Linked DNA regions of Homo sapiens: all the other regions are linked to region 1. The links are contacts of gene promoters, found by promoter capture Hi-C in human tissues and cell types (Jung and others, 2019). All regions are on one chromosome and are shown on one strand. Each heading gives the region's core, a stretch centred on a gene start or on the middle of the fragment in contact. The rest is flanking DNA. Distances are from core to core; before and after follow the strand shown. Region 1 holds the start of LOC105372244 (a long non-coding RNA gene). Region 2 holds the start of TLE6 (TLE family member 6, subcortical maternal complex member). Region 3 holds the start of GIPC3 (GIPC PDZ domain containing family member 3).

Region 1 (4,219 bases), core at 752-3,251:
GATTAGGGCAGCCTCTCAATGCTGTCACTCACAGACCACCCTTCTCGTTTTATCTGTGTCCAAGTATTAGTGAAGATTTTTCTTTGGATCAAACTGTTTGTTTTAAAAGACTTAGATATATTTAAAGAGAAAAGAATAACGCCTCCCCCGCACTACAGTCTGCCGTGAATTGAGGGCAGGTCCAAAGATAAATGCAACAAAAACCTCCTCAACCTTATCATAGTCTAACCAAACATCAAGCCTGAAGCCTGCTCTGTTTGTAAAAAAAGAAAAGCAAGAATTAGAGAGGTGTTAAAGACAGGTTAAGAGCATCCAAGAGCTGCAGGTGAAGAGCAAGTGATCTAACACAGGTGTAATTGGAATCCCACAGGAGAAGGAAGACTAGGGCAGCTGATTGTTTTCAGAGAATAGCCAATAATTTTCACAGATCCATGAGGCTCAGAAAACACCAAACAGAATAAATATCCTCTAAGAGACATACCCAGACATATATTCAAAATGCAGAAAATTGGCTGGGCGTGGTGGCTCACGCCTGTAATCCCAGCACTTTGGGAGGCTGAGGCAGGCAGATCACGAGGTTAGGAGATCGAGACCATCCTGGCTAACACAGGGAAGGTCTTGCCAGCCTTATAGGTCACAGGGAGGCTTTGACCCAGAGGAAGGTGGGAGCCTTGGAGTGCTGTAGGCAGAGGAGGGACAGGCCCTAACTCGGGTGCTCACAGCCCCCCTCTGGTGGCTGCTGCAGGGAGGACAGACTGTGTGGCAGAGGGTGGAGCCTAGGACCAAGGCAGAGGCAACTGCGCCAGGTCCAGGTGGGCAACGATGGGGCTGGACCCAGGCAGAGGAACAGGAAGAAGTGAGCGTTTGAGGATGGAATAGTGAGGGCAGGGGCGACAGGACCTGCTGATAGATTGGAGTTGAGCAAGAAACAAAAGATCCAGGATAGCGTTGATATTCGGCTCCAGCACCCGGAAGAATGGAACTGCCGGGCCGGGCGCGGTGGCTCACGCCTATAATCCCAGCACTTTGGGCGGCCGAGGCAGGCGGATCACGAGGTCAGGAGATCGAGACCATCCTGGCTAACACGGTGAAACCCCGTCTCTACTAAAAATACAAAAAATTAGCCAGGCGTGGTGGCAGGCACCTGTAGTCCCAGCTACTCGGGAGGCTGAGGCAGGAGAATGGTGTGAACCCGGGAGGCGGAGCTTGCAGTGAGCCGAGATCGCGCCACTGCACTCTAGCCTGGGCGACAGAGCGAGACTCCGTCTCAAAAAAAAAAAAAAAAAGAATGGAACTGCCATCAGCTGAGATGCAGACGACGAGGGAGGAGCAGGATTGGGGACCAAGGACAGAGTGTTGTCCTGACTAGCAACCCCTTAGCTGTCAGAGATTAGGGCTGAGTTCATTTGAGGCTTTGATGGAGGACAGACAGGCAGAGAAAGCTCAGACCCTTGTCCCCAGTCATCCTGCATGGGAGCCCCTGCGACCAGAGCCGGGAGCTGTCCGCGACCCCCGGTGCTGAAGCTCCCATTCTAAGCAGGAACTCCGGAGCCCCCGCTGGAGTAAAGTGTCTGACATGTAGTGAACGCTCAAAACGTATCCCTGAATTTCACCCAAGGTGGCAAAGCGATTTCAGCGTCATCGTACTGCGCTGGTTTCTATGTCCCGCACGCCCCAACCTGTACTTTACGGATATGCAAACTGAGACCATGAGAGGTTGCTGCACCTTTAAAAATCACGCAATGCATCACTTTATTATTATTATTATTTTTTTTGAGACGGAGTCTGGCTCTGTGGCCCAGGCTGGAGTGCAGTGGCACGATCTCCACTCACTGCCACCTCCGCCTTCTGGATTCAAGCGATCCTCCTGCCTCAGCCTCCTGAGTAGTTGGGATTACAGGCACTCGCCACCACACCCGGCTAATTTTTGTATTTTTAGTAGAGACGGGGTTTCACCATATTGGCCAGGCTGATCTTGAACTCCTGACCTCGGGTGATCTGCCCTCCGCGGCTTCCCAAAGTGCTGGGATTACAGGCATGAGCCACGGCGCCCGGCTACGTAATGCATCACTCTTGACGTCACAATCAGCTAGGCTCTGAAGACAAATCCGAGTTCAGGCTGTGGATTGGCTGATCCCTCATGAATATGTAGATTACTCTCACCCTTCACCTCGCTCTGGTAGGTTCAGAAAAGTGAGGGGGTGGAGAGGAGGCGGGGCTGGGGGCGGGGCTGGAAACTGTTCCTGTGAGGGTTGGGGCAAGTAGTGGGGCGGGGCCAGGGACTATGGACGTGGTCAGAATTTTTGTACATTTCGTTCCCTGCCTTCTCCCCAGTACCTTTCTACAACAGCTCCTAGTACCCAGTAGGTGCTTCATAAATGTTTATTGACTCTGGATTCCAGTAGGAGTGATGCCTGAGAGTTCACTTTTCTGACCGGGGAGAAGGTCCTATTTTGCCTATAATGTGATAGTATCATTGGTATCATTCATCTTGATCTGCCCAGTTCTGGATGTTTGCATAATAACCTGAGCCCAGGCCGGGCGTGGTGGCTCACGCCTGTAATCCCAGCACTTTGGGAGGCCGAGGCGGTTGGATCAGGAAGGCCGAGGCGGGCGGATCAAGAGGTCAGGGATTCGAGACCAGCCTGACCAATATGGTGAAACCCTGTCTCTATTAAAAATACAAAAATTAGCCGGGTGTGGTGGCGCGCACCTGTAATCCCAGCTACTCGGGAGGCTGAGGCAGCAGAATCTCTTGAACCTGGGAGGCGGAGGTTGCAGTGAACTGAGATCGCGCCACTGCACTCCAGCCTGGGTGACAGAGTGAGACTCCGTCTCAAACAACCAACCAAAAATTATGTGTATACACACACACACACACATACACACGTATATATACATATATACACACATATACATTATATGTATATACACACATATGTATGTGTATATATATATATACACACACACACACACACACACATATATATATATATATCTCATGAGCCCCGTCTTACAGATGAGGAAACTGAAGCTTGGAGAGAGAATGCAAGGCTTAAGGGCATGCATGTCTTAAGTCAATCAGCAAATATTGAGGACCCAGAGGTGAGGAACTCCAGCTCCCTTGGTCGGGACTCAGCTCCTATTTGGCCCTCAGTTTTACCCCCACACATCCTGCTTCAGTCCTCTGTGTGGTTTCGAGGCCACAGTTGAGGGGCTCTCTGTTTTCTAACTCGGACCTAGGTAATTCCTACTTTTTTTTTTTTTTTTTTTTTTTTTTTTTAGACGGCGTTTCACTCTTGTCGCCCAGGCTGGAGTGCAGTGGCGCAATCTCGGCTCACCGCAACCTCCGCCTCCCAGGTTCAAGCGATTCTCCGGCCTCAGCCTCCTTAGTAGCTGGGATTACAGGCATGCACCACCACACCCGACTAATTTTGTATTTTCAGTAGAGACGGGGTTTCTCCATGTTGGTCTGGCTAGTCTCGAACTCCCGTCCTCAGGTGATCCACTCACCTCGGCCTCCCGAAGTGCTGGGATTACAGGCGTGAGCCACCGCGCCCGGCCAGTAATTCCTACTTCTACCCCCACCTTTGCTAACGCCATGCCCTGGGCCTAGCAGGTCACGGGTGTCTCCATCCCAACCCAGCATCTCCGACCTCCAGGGTGGGAACAGAGTGTTCCAGGCTAGGGAAACCGCACGTGCAAAGGCCTGGCAGCCAAACCACATTCAGTTACTGGAGAGAAAAGGGGAGGAGGAGCGGGGCCGACCTTGCAGGCTAGAAAGTTTGCACGGGGCAACTTTTGCGTCCCAGGAGAGAAGCCAGGGAGTCCCCTCACAGTCTCCCTCCGAGCTCAATAAATCTTGCACATTTCAAGCCAAGGCACAGAGCCTGAAAGAAGGCATGGGTTTTTGCTGCCCCCTGCTGGTCGCTGGAGCGAAAGCATCCGGAAAGTAATTTTAAAAAAAAGTCTCATTCTGTCGCCCAAGCTGGAGTGCAGTGGCGGGAACTCGGCTCACTGCAACCGCCGCCTCCCGGGTTCAAGCGATTCTCCTGCCTCAGCCTCTCGAGTAGCTGAGATTACAGGTGCGCACCACCACACCCGGCTAATTTTTGCATTTTTAGTAGAGTTGGAGGGGGGGGTTGCCATTTTGTCCAGGCTGGTCTCGAACTCCTGATCTCAAGTGATCCGCCCGCTTTGGCCTCCCAAAGTGCTGGGA
Region 2 (4,219 bases), core at 439-2,938, 330 kb after region 1:
GGCCAAGTGTGGTGGCTCACACCTATAACCCCAGCACTTTGGGAGGCTGAGGCAGGCAGATCACGAGGTCAGGAGCTCGAGACCAGCCTGGCCAACATGGTGAAACCCAGTCTCTACTAAAAATACAAGAAAAATTTGGTGGTCATGGTGGCAGGTGCTTGTAGTCCCAGCTACTCGGGAGGCGAGGCAGGAGAATCACTTGAACCCGGGAGGCAGAGGTTGCAGTGAGCTGAGATTGCGCCATTGCATTCCAGCCGAGGTGAGTGTGAGACTCCGTCTCAAACATAATAAAATCATAAAGTCTCAAAACAAAATATCCCTCATCTGACTCCTTTACAAAAAAAAACGTCTGCTCAGCCCTGAGAGCCTAAATTTACAAATGGTCATCTCTGGGACGCAAAGTGCAGGGAGCGGGGATTGCTTGTAAAACATCAACCAAATACATGATGTGTTCCTGTGTTTTTATCACATATGTGATTAGATGCTACATTTTTTTTTAGATGGGATCTCACTGTCACCAAGGATGGAGTGCAGTGGCACCATCATAGTTCACTGCAGCCTCAAACTCCTTGGGCTCAAGCCAACCCTCTGCCTCAGCCTCCCAAGTAGCTGCAACTACAGGCCCACGTCACTAGGCCCAGCTGATTCTTCTAGTTTTATTTTTTACAGAGACAGGGTCTCACTACGTTGTCCAGGCTGGTTTCAAACTCCTGGGCTCAAGTGGTCCTCCTGCCTCGGCCTCCAAAAATGTTGAGATTACAGTTGTGAGCCACAGTGTCCAGCCTACACTTAATTTTTTTTAAAAAACACGGCTCCTTGGCACCTGTCTTGAGTGTAGCAGCGACCAGTATTGTCTTCAGCTGCGAGGCCTGGGCGGGGCCAGCCCAGGTCACAGGTGGAAAAGGGGCAGAACCACATTGGGCCCGGGTTTCCCTTGAGGGCTGATCCCACCACATGCCCTCCTCACCGAAGTGCTTTTCGGGGGGCCCTTGGGTCTGGGCTGGTCCCTAGAGGTCATCTTCAAGGCAGTAGCCTCCAAGACTTTAGCCAGAGTCTAAAACAACAAGGAGACGGCAGGTCTTGAGGGACAGAAAATAAGGCAGTGCCAGGGAAGCAAGGCACCCGTTACCCCACCCGCACCTCCCAGTTTGGTAAGTCTCCAGGGACCCAATCCTGCGGTTCTCCCATGCGTTCCCTAGGTCCTGTCCTCACTTATCAATGCCTCCAGCTGCCCAGATTCATGGGGGCGGGGACCCAGAAAGAACTGAGCCTTGCCTCCCAGGCCTCACCCTAGGAGGCTGGGGTGGATAGTGCACATACACTCCCTGCTGGGGGCAGTCAGGGACGGGGGAGCCCAGGGAAGGTCGCCAAAGCTCAACCTTAGTTTTGAGACAATTTCCTAAAGCGCAGGGAGATCACTAGAAAGGGGTTTTGAAGGATGACTAGGAGTTAGCCAGGTGCATTAGGCGGAATTCATCAGACAGAAGAAACGACCTCTCTCCACCTCCATCCCTGCTGCAGCACCCAGCTTCTTCCTTGCCTCAGTCCTGCCCCTCCACGCCCCTGCAGCCCCTTCCCCGGCCGGGAATCCTGGAGTCCCCCCAGCCCCCTAGAACACGCCTGGCAACTCACGTCCCTCACCGGGCGGAAGCTGCGGAGGTCAGCCAAGTTCAGGCCAAGAGGAAACTCCTCCTTCCCCCACCGGGGGCCATTTGACCCATCGGGCCCCGCCTCGTCCCGCCTTGTCCCCGCCCCGTCCCGCCCAGGCCCCACCCAGCCGCCACCTGGACCGCGAAGCAGATCAATGAAGGCGCAGTAGCTGCACGTGGGTTCGGGCTCCGGGGGGGGCAGGCCTCTGGCGGCGCCGGCCAATAGCGAGGCCGTTTACGCACGTGGGTCGCGTACGCCCTCCCTGATTGGTCGGCTCTCCCCGGCCGCCGGCCATGCTGTCACTCAGCGAGCCGGGAGCCTCTGCTTTACCCTTTCGGTCCCGCTGCCGGGAAGGGCGGACTTGCAGAGCTATAGGCAATTTGGGGTCCCAGCGGGGGCGGGGATATTTAGGAGGGCGTGGGGCTTGAGGCTCAGAGGCTGGAACTTGGGCAGGGATAGGTGGCGAGTAGTTGCATTGTTTTACGCATTTTTAGCCTTGTCCGGAAGTGGCTTATGGCTGGAGGTGAGGAGTGGGAGGTGGGTGGGTTCAATCTTTAGCGCTGTCACCCCAATTCTTAGATACGGGCTAATTACATTTTCCTCAATATTAAATAACGTGCAATGCAAACGAAGCTTCAAGTCCTCTTTCTGGAGCCAACTTACTGGGTCCCCTTGATGGTCCCAGCCCCGGGCTATGCATTTATCACCGAATTTTCCCAACTGCTCTTCCAGCCCAGTGACAAAGGCTCTGAGAGCAGAAAGCGGGACAGCAGAGGCCCTGAGGCTGATACAGTATTGCCGGATGCAAGCGCGGGGTGGGAGAGAGTGGTGGGTATTCCAGACGGAGGGAATAGCGGAACCTCTCAGGCAGAGCTGGGCTGGTTACAGGAGCAGCCAGGGAGGCTAACGGGGCTGCGTGCACTCCGAACAGGCCTGGGATGATTTCCGAGAGGTAAGTGGGTTGCTGCAGAGCGAGAGAAACCTGCTGTGTGGGGTCGTGGGGATAGGAGTAAGGGGATTTCGGAGTTTTGTTTTGGCCTATTCAAAATATGAAGCCAAGTCACCATGGCTCACACCTGTGATCCCAGCATTTTGGAAGGCTGAGGTGGGAGGATTGCTTGAGGCCAGGAGTTGGAGACCAGCCTGGGCAACACAGTGACACCGCGTCTCTACAAAAAATTTAAAAATTAGCCAAGTGTGGTGGTCATGCACCTGTAGTCTCAGCTACTGGGGAGGCTGAGGCAGGAGGATGGCGTAAGCCCAGGAGGTTGAGTCTGGAGTGAGCTATGATCGTGCCACTGCACTCCAGTCTGAGCAACAGAGCAAGACTCCATCTCAAAAAAATATATAGCTATAATATATATAAAGTATATATATTATATATATAGTGGTCAAGCTGCAGTTCTGGAGTGAGAGCCCGTTTCTTTCTGTTTGGCCCAGGACCTGGTACTGGCATTAGCAGTTCACTCTGCCAGGGACAGTCTCTCTCAGACAGCCACCGGCTGGCTCCTTACTCCCTCAGCTCCCTACTTAGAAATCACCACGTTGGGCCAGGTGCTGTGGTGCACGCCTGTAATCCCAGCACTTTGGGAGGCAGAGGTGGGTGGATCATCTGAGGTCAGGGGTTCGAGACCAGCCTGGCCAACATGGTGAAACCCCAGCTTGGCCGGGTCACACCTGTAATCCCAGAACTTTGGGAGGCCGAGGCGGGTGGATCACGAGGTCAGGAGATCGAGACCATCCTGGCTAACACGGTGAAACCCCATCTCTAATAAAAAATACAAAAAAATTAGCCGGGCGTGGCGGTGGGTGCCTGTAATCCCAGCTACTGAGGAGGCTGAGGCGGGAGAATGGCGTGAACCCGGGAGGCGGAGCTTGCAGTGAGCCAAGATTGCGCCACTGCACTCCAGACTGGGCGACAGAACAAGACTCTGTCTCAAAAAAAAAAAAAAAAAAAGAAAACCCCAGCTCTACTAAAATACAAAAATTAGCCAGGCATGGTGATAGGCACCTGTAGTCCCAGCTACTCTGGAGGCTTAGGCAGAAGAATCACTTGAACCTGGGAGGCGGAGGTTGCAGTGAGTCGAGATTGTGCCACTGCACTTCAGCCAGGGTGACACAGCAAGACTCTGTCTCAGAAAAAAAAAAAAAAAATCACCACATCAGGCCAGGCGTGGTGGCTCACGCCTGTAATTCCAGCACTTTGAGAGGCCGAAGCAGGAGATCACTTGAGGTCAGGAGTTCCAGACCAGCCTGGCCAACATGCTGAAACCCTACCTCTACTAAAAATACAAAAATCAGCCGGGCACGGTGATGCACATCTGTAATCCCAGCTACTTGAACCTGGGAGGCAGAGGTTGCAATGAGCCAAGATGTCGCCATTGCACTCCACCCTGGGCGACAGAGTACTCTGCCTCAAAAGAAGAAAAGAGTTCATGACCAGCCTGGCCAACATGGCAAAACCCCATCTCTACTAAAAATACAAAGGTCAGCTGAGTGTGGTGGCAGACGCCTGTAATCCCAGCTACTTGGGAGGCTGATGCAGGAGAATCGCTTGAACCCGGGAGGT
Region 3 (4,219 bases), core at 1,177-3,676, 280 kb before region 1:
TCCTGGCTAACACGGTAAAACCTCATCTCTACTAAAATACAAAAAATTAGCCGGGTGTGGTGGCGGGCGCCTGTAGTCCCAGCTACTCGGGAGGCTGAGGCAGGAGAATGGTGTGAACCCGGGAGGCGGAGCTTGCAGTGAGCTGAAATCTAGCCACTGCACTGCAGTCTGGGCGACAGAGCTAGACTCCGTCTCAAAAAAAAAAAAAGAAAAGAAAAGAAAAAAGAAAGGAAAAAAAAAAGAAAAGAAAGAAAACTTTTTTCTCATATTCTCATTCTCTACAATCCACCATGACCTCAAAGCACTGCTTTAAAAGTTCCCAGGCTGCGCGCGGTGGCTCACGCCTATAATCCTAGCATTTTGGGAGACTGAGGCGGGTGGAGCACTTGAGGTCAGAAGTTCGAGACCAGACTGGTCAAGATGGTGAAACCCCGTCTCTACTAAAAATACAAAAATTAGCCAGGCGCAATGGTGGGTGCCTGTAGTCCCAGCTACTCGGGAGGCTGAGGCAGGAGAATCGCTTGAACCCGGGAGGTGGAGATTGCAGTGAGCTGAGATCGCGCCATTGCACTCCAGCCCAGGCAACAGAGTGAGACTCCGTCTCAAAAACAAACAAACAAACAAACAAACAAAAACAAGTCTCCCAGCCTGGCTCCAAAGTGGTTCTGGACGCGTCCTCCTCCAACTCCACTTTACCCAGTCTCTCCCCCACCCCTCCCCCACAGGCTGACTCCATAACAATCTATTAATAGAAACTACCTACGAGTTTCTGATACCCTGCCAGGAGCTCCTTGGCACGCAGCGGGTGCACCTAGAACCTTCCAGCCCGTCCCATCCCCGACCCTCCTCCACCCCAGGCATCCGTAGAACGCACTTCGGGAAGAGCTCCCGCCAGCCCACCCGCCTCACCGAAGGCCCTCTTGGGCTGCACCAGGCGCAGGGTGAAGGGCTGGGACTTGGGCAGCTCCCGGAGCATCTTGGCCACCTCGTAGTGGCGGCAGCCCACAATGGAGTGGTCGTTGATGGCTTCGATGCTGTCACCCACGCACACTGCCTCGATCCGGTTGATGATACTGCCTTCCTTGATTCTCTGCAGGGATCCAGCGTCGCTGGCAGGGCAACCCCAGCCACCCGCCTCCAATCCGCAGAACCCACGTCGACCCAGAGTGGGGGGGGCAGTTGCTGGACCCCAGGAAGCCACCCGCCCACCCCCTCCCGGGCACCTTGATGAAGGCGTAGCCAGCCCCGTTGTCCGTGATGGTCAGCCCCAGAGCATCCTCTGTCTTAGTGACCTCCACCTCCTTGGTCTCGCCTCGCACGTGGGCAAAGATGAAGTCCTCCAGGCCTATCTGACCCCCCAGGAGCTTCTGCATGTCCACTTTGTGGCTGTTGAGGGTGCAGAATAAAATCTTCCCGGGGGAGAAGGAGCCTAGAGTTAGCCAGGGCATGCATCCCCCCACGCAGCCACCCTGTCTGCGCAGGCCCCTGCCCCCAGCGACCAGGATCCCAGCCCATGGGAAAGGGCAGGGCGTGGGACCCCCAGAACAGAGAGAGGAGGGAGAAGGAGACTTCCAGCAGGTGGAGACCCCTCTCCATACCCCGGGACCTCCAGCCCCCAGACCTCCAGGTTTAATCTGCTGGCGCCCCCTGGGGGCTGCAAACCAAACGAACCCGGATTGGAAAAACGCCCAGGAACCCCCCAACCCCACGGCGGCCTCAAACTTCCCATCCCTAAGGGGGCCATCTGGAACCCCAGACCCCAGCTACGCCCAGGAAGCACAGAGGCGCTTCCCCGAGGGCTGGGGTCCGCTCCAAGCTAGGTCTGCGCAGAGGATTTTCTGGAATATCTAGGGGTCCGCTAGTCCTAAGACCTGCCCATCTTTTGCGCAGAGCGTGCAAAGGGGGCCCCTGGGAGTGTGGCACCCCGGGATCTGAGGGCTGGGTCTCTGAGATCCGGCGATTAGGCGGCCACCCCGACGTCTGGGATCCGGGGATCTGGGGTCTCCCGTCCAGGGTCCAAGCTCCCTACCCCTCACCCCATCAGGCGGGTGGTCTTGGGCGCCGGTGTCCGGGCTCCTTACCTCGGTGGGCGCGATCCCGAAGGCTTCGGCGATCTTGGCGTACAGCTCGCGGACGTTGGTGAAGCCCTCGATCTTGCCCGTGGGGCTCCCGTGCGCCAGCTGCGTGCGGAAGACGAGGCGCGGGCGGGCGCGGGGCGCGGCCGGGGGCTCCGAGGGCGCGGGCGGGGGCGCAGACGCGCGCGGGGTCTCGGTCCCCCGGGCCTCCCGGGCCGCTGCTCCCTCCATGGCGGGAGAAGTTCGGCCACCCACCCGGGCCCTCGCCGCCGCCGCCGGATCCGCCGCTTCCTGCAGCCTCCCCTCCCCCGGCCCAGGGCGCGACAGCCGAGACGCCCGGGTAAGGGGATCTGGGAACCCGAGCCTCCCGGGAAGGCGACACCGCGGGGTGCGCAGGGGTGGGTCGGGCCCCAGGTGTCCGGGCCCTGCCAGGGCCAGCTGTGCCCTCCCCGGGGATACCCGCAGTCCGGGGGGGCCTGAGCTCAGGACCCTGGAAGAACAGGGACCACAAATAAGGACAGGGACAGGCCTGGAGCGGTGGCTCACGTCTGTAATTCCAGCACTTTGGGAGGCCGAAGCGGGCAGATGACCTGAGGTCAGGAGTTCAAGACTAGCCTGGCCAACATGGTGAAACCCCGTCTCTACCAAAAATACAAAAATCAGCCGGACGTGGTGGCGGGCGCCTGTAATCCCAGCTACTCGGGAGGCTGAGATCTCTTGAACCCGGGAGGCGGAGGTGGCAGTGAGCTGAGATGGCGCCATTACACTCCAGCCTGGGCAACAAAGCGAGACTCCGTCGCAAAAAAAAAAAAAAAAAAAAAAAAAAGGACAGGGACAGCTGAGGGTGCTGGAGCACTCACCCTCTGCTAGGCGAGGTCATTGTTTTATTTTATTTTATTATTTTTATTTATTTATTTATTTTGAGCTGGAGTCTCGCTCTGTCACCCAGTTTGGAGTTCAGTGGCACGATCTCAGCTCACTGCAACCTCTGCCCACCAGGTTCAAGCAATTCTCATGCCTCGGCCTCCCCAGTAGCTGGGATTACAGGCATATACCACCATGCCCGGCTAATTTTTTTGTATTTTTAATAGAGATGAGGTTTCACCATGTTGGCCAGGATGGTCTTGAACTCCTGACCTCAGGAATCCACCCACCTTAGCCTCCAAAAAAGCTGGGATTACAGGCATGAGCCACCACGCCCAGCCTTTGGTTTGTTTGTTTGATTTTGGAGACGGAGTCTAGCTCTGTCGCCCAGGCTGGAGTGCAATGGCGTGATCTCGGCTCACTGCAACCTCCACCTCCTGGGTTCAAGCGATTCTCCTGCCTCAGCCCCCCTAGTAGCTGGGATTATAGGCGCACACCACCATGCCTGGCTAATTTTTGTATTTTTTAGTAGAGACAGGGTTTCACCATGTTGGTCAGGCTTGTCTCGAACCCCTGACCTCAGGTGATCCACCTGCCTTGGCCTCCCAAAGTGCTGGGATTACAGGCGTGAACCACCGCACCCGGCCGCATTCAGTTTTTTAAAATTTAATTTAGAAACATGATTAATTTTTTGTACAGTTGGGATCTCACTGTGTTGCCCAGGCTGGTCTCAAACTCAAGACCAGGAGGTTCAGGCCATCCTTCAGCCTTGGCCTCCCAAAGTGCTAGGATTACAGATGTGAGCCACTGTGCCCAGCTTCTCTTCAGCATTTAAAGCTACCATCTGACATATCAGATATTTTATTTTATTTTATTTTTTGAGACGGAGTCTCTCTCTCTTGCCAAGGCTGGAGTGCAGTGGCACGATCTCGGCTCACTGCAACCTCTGCCTCCCGGGTTCAAGCGATTCTTCTGCCTCAGCCTCCTGATTAGTTGGGATTACAGGCACCTGCCACCATGCCCAGCTAATTTTTTTTGTATTTTTAGTAGAGACGGGGGTTTCACCATGTTGGCCAGGATGGTCTCGAACTCCTGACCTCAAGGAATCCTCCCGCCTCAGCCTCCCAAAATGTTGGGATTACAGGCTTGAGCCCCAGCCCCCTGCTGATATTTCATTTCATCTTTTGTCCTGTTTGTCCCCAGGACTGGAGGAATGTCAGCTCCAGGAGGGTGGGGGCTGTTCCCCTGCTCTGTCCCCATGCCCAGTGTCCAGGGCACAG

The links. Contacts are between HindIII fragments. The study calls those that stand out against the background at their distance.
Region 2: the fragment with the promoter of TLE6 here is called in contact with a fragment that was not itself captured in region 1 in 1 of the 25 tissues and cell types used here (dorsolateral prefrontal cortex).
Region 3: a contact is called between the fragment with the promoter of GIPC3 here and a fragment that was not itself captured in region 1, in 2 of the 25 tissues and cell types used here (dorsolateral prefrontal cortex and pancreas).

Annotation. Positions count from the first base shown.
Region 1 is chr19:3,304,809-3,309,027 of GRCh38, reverse strand. LOC105372244 (a long non-coding RNA gene) reads left to right here and starts at 2,126. Exons shown (of 3, transcript NR_187753.1): 1 at 2,126-2,179. The HindIII fragment of the contact is 7,399 bases long and covers 1-4,219 here.
Region 2 is chr19:2,975,033-2,979,251 of GRCh38, reverse strand. It overlaps TLE6 (TLE family member 6, subcortical maternal complex member), which reads right to left and starts at 1,688. Exons shown (of 17, transcript NM_001143986.2): 1 at 1,642-1,688; 2 at 968-1,054. The coding sequence starts at 1,018. RefSeq lists a silencer at 1,657-1,966. The HindIII fragment of the contact is 31,192 bases long and covers 1-3,619 here.
Region 3 is chr19:3,583,685-3,587,903 of GRCh38, reverse strand. GIPC3 (GIPC PDZ domain containing family member 3) reads right to left here and starts at 2,426. Exons shown (of 6, transcript NM_133261.3): 1 at 2,082-2,426; 2 at 1,224-1,409; 3 at 910-1,090. The coding sequence starts at 2,306. The HindIII fragment of the contact is 10,668 bases long and covers 1-4,219 here.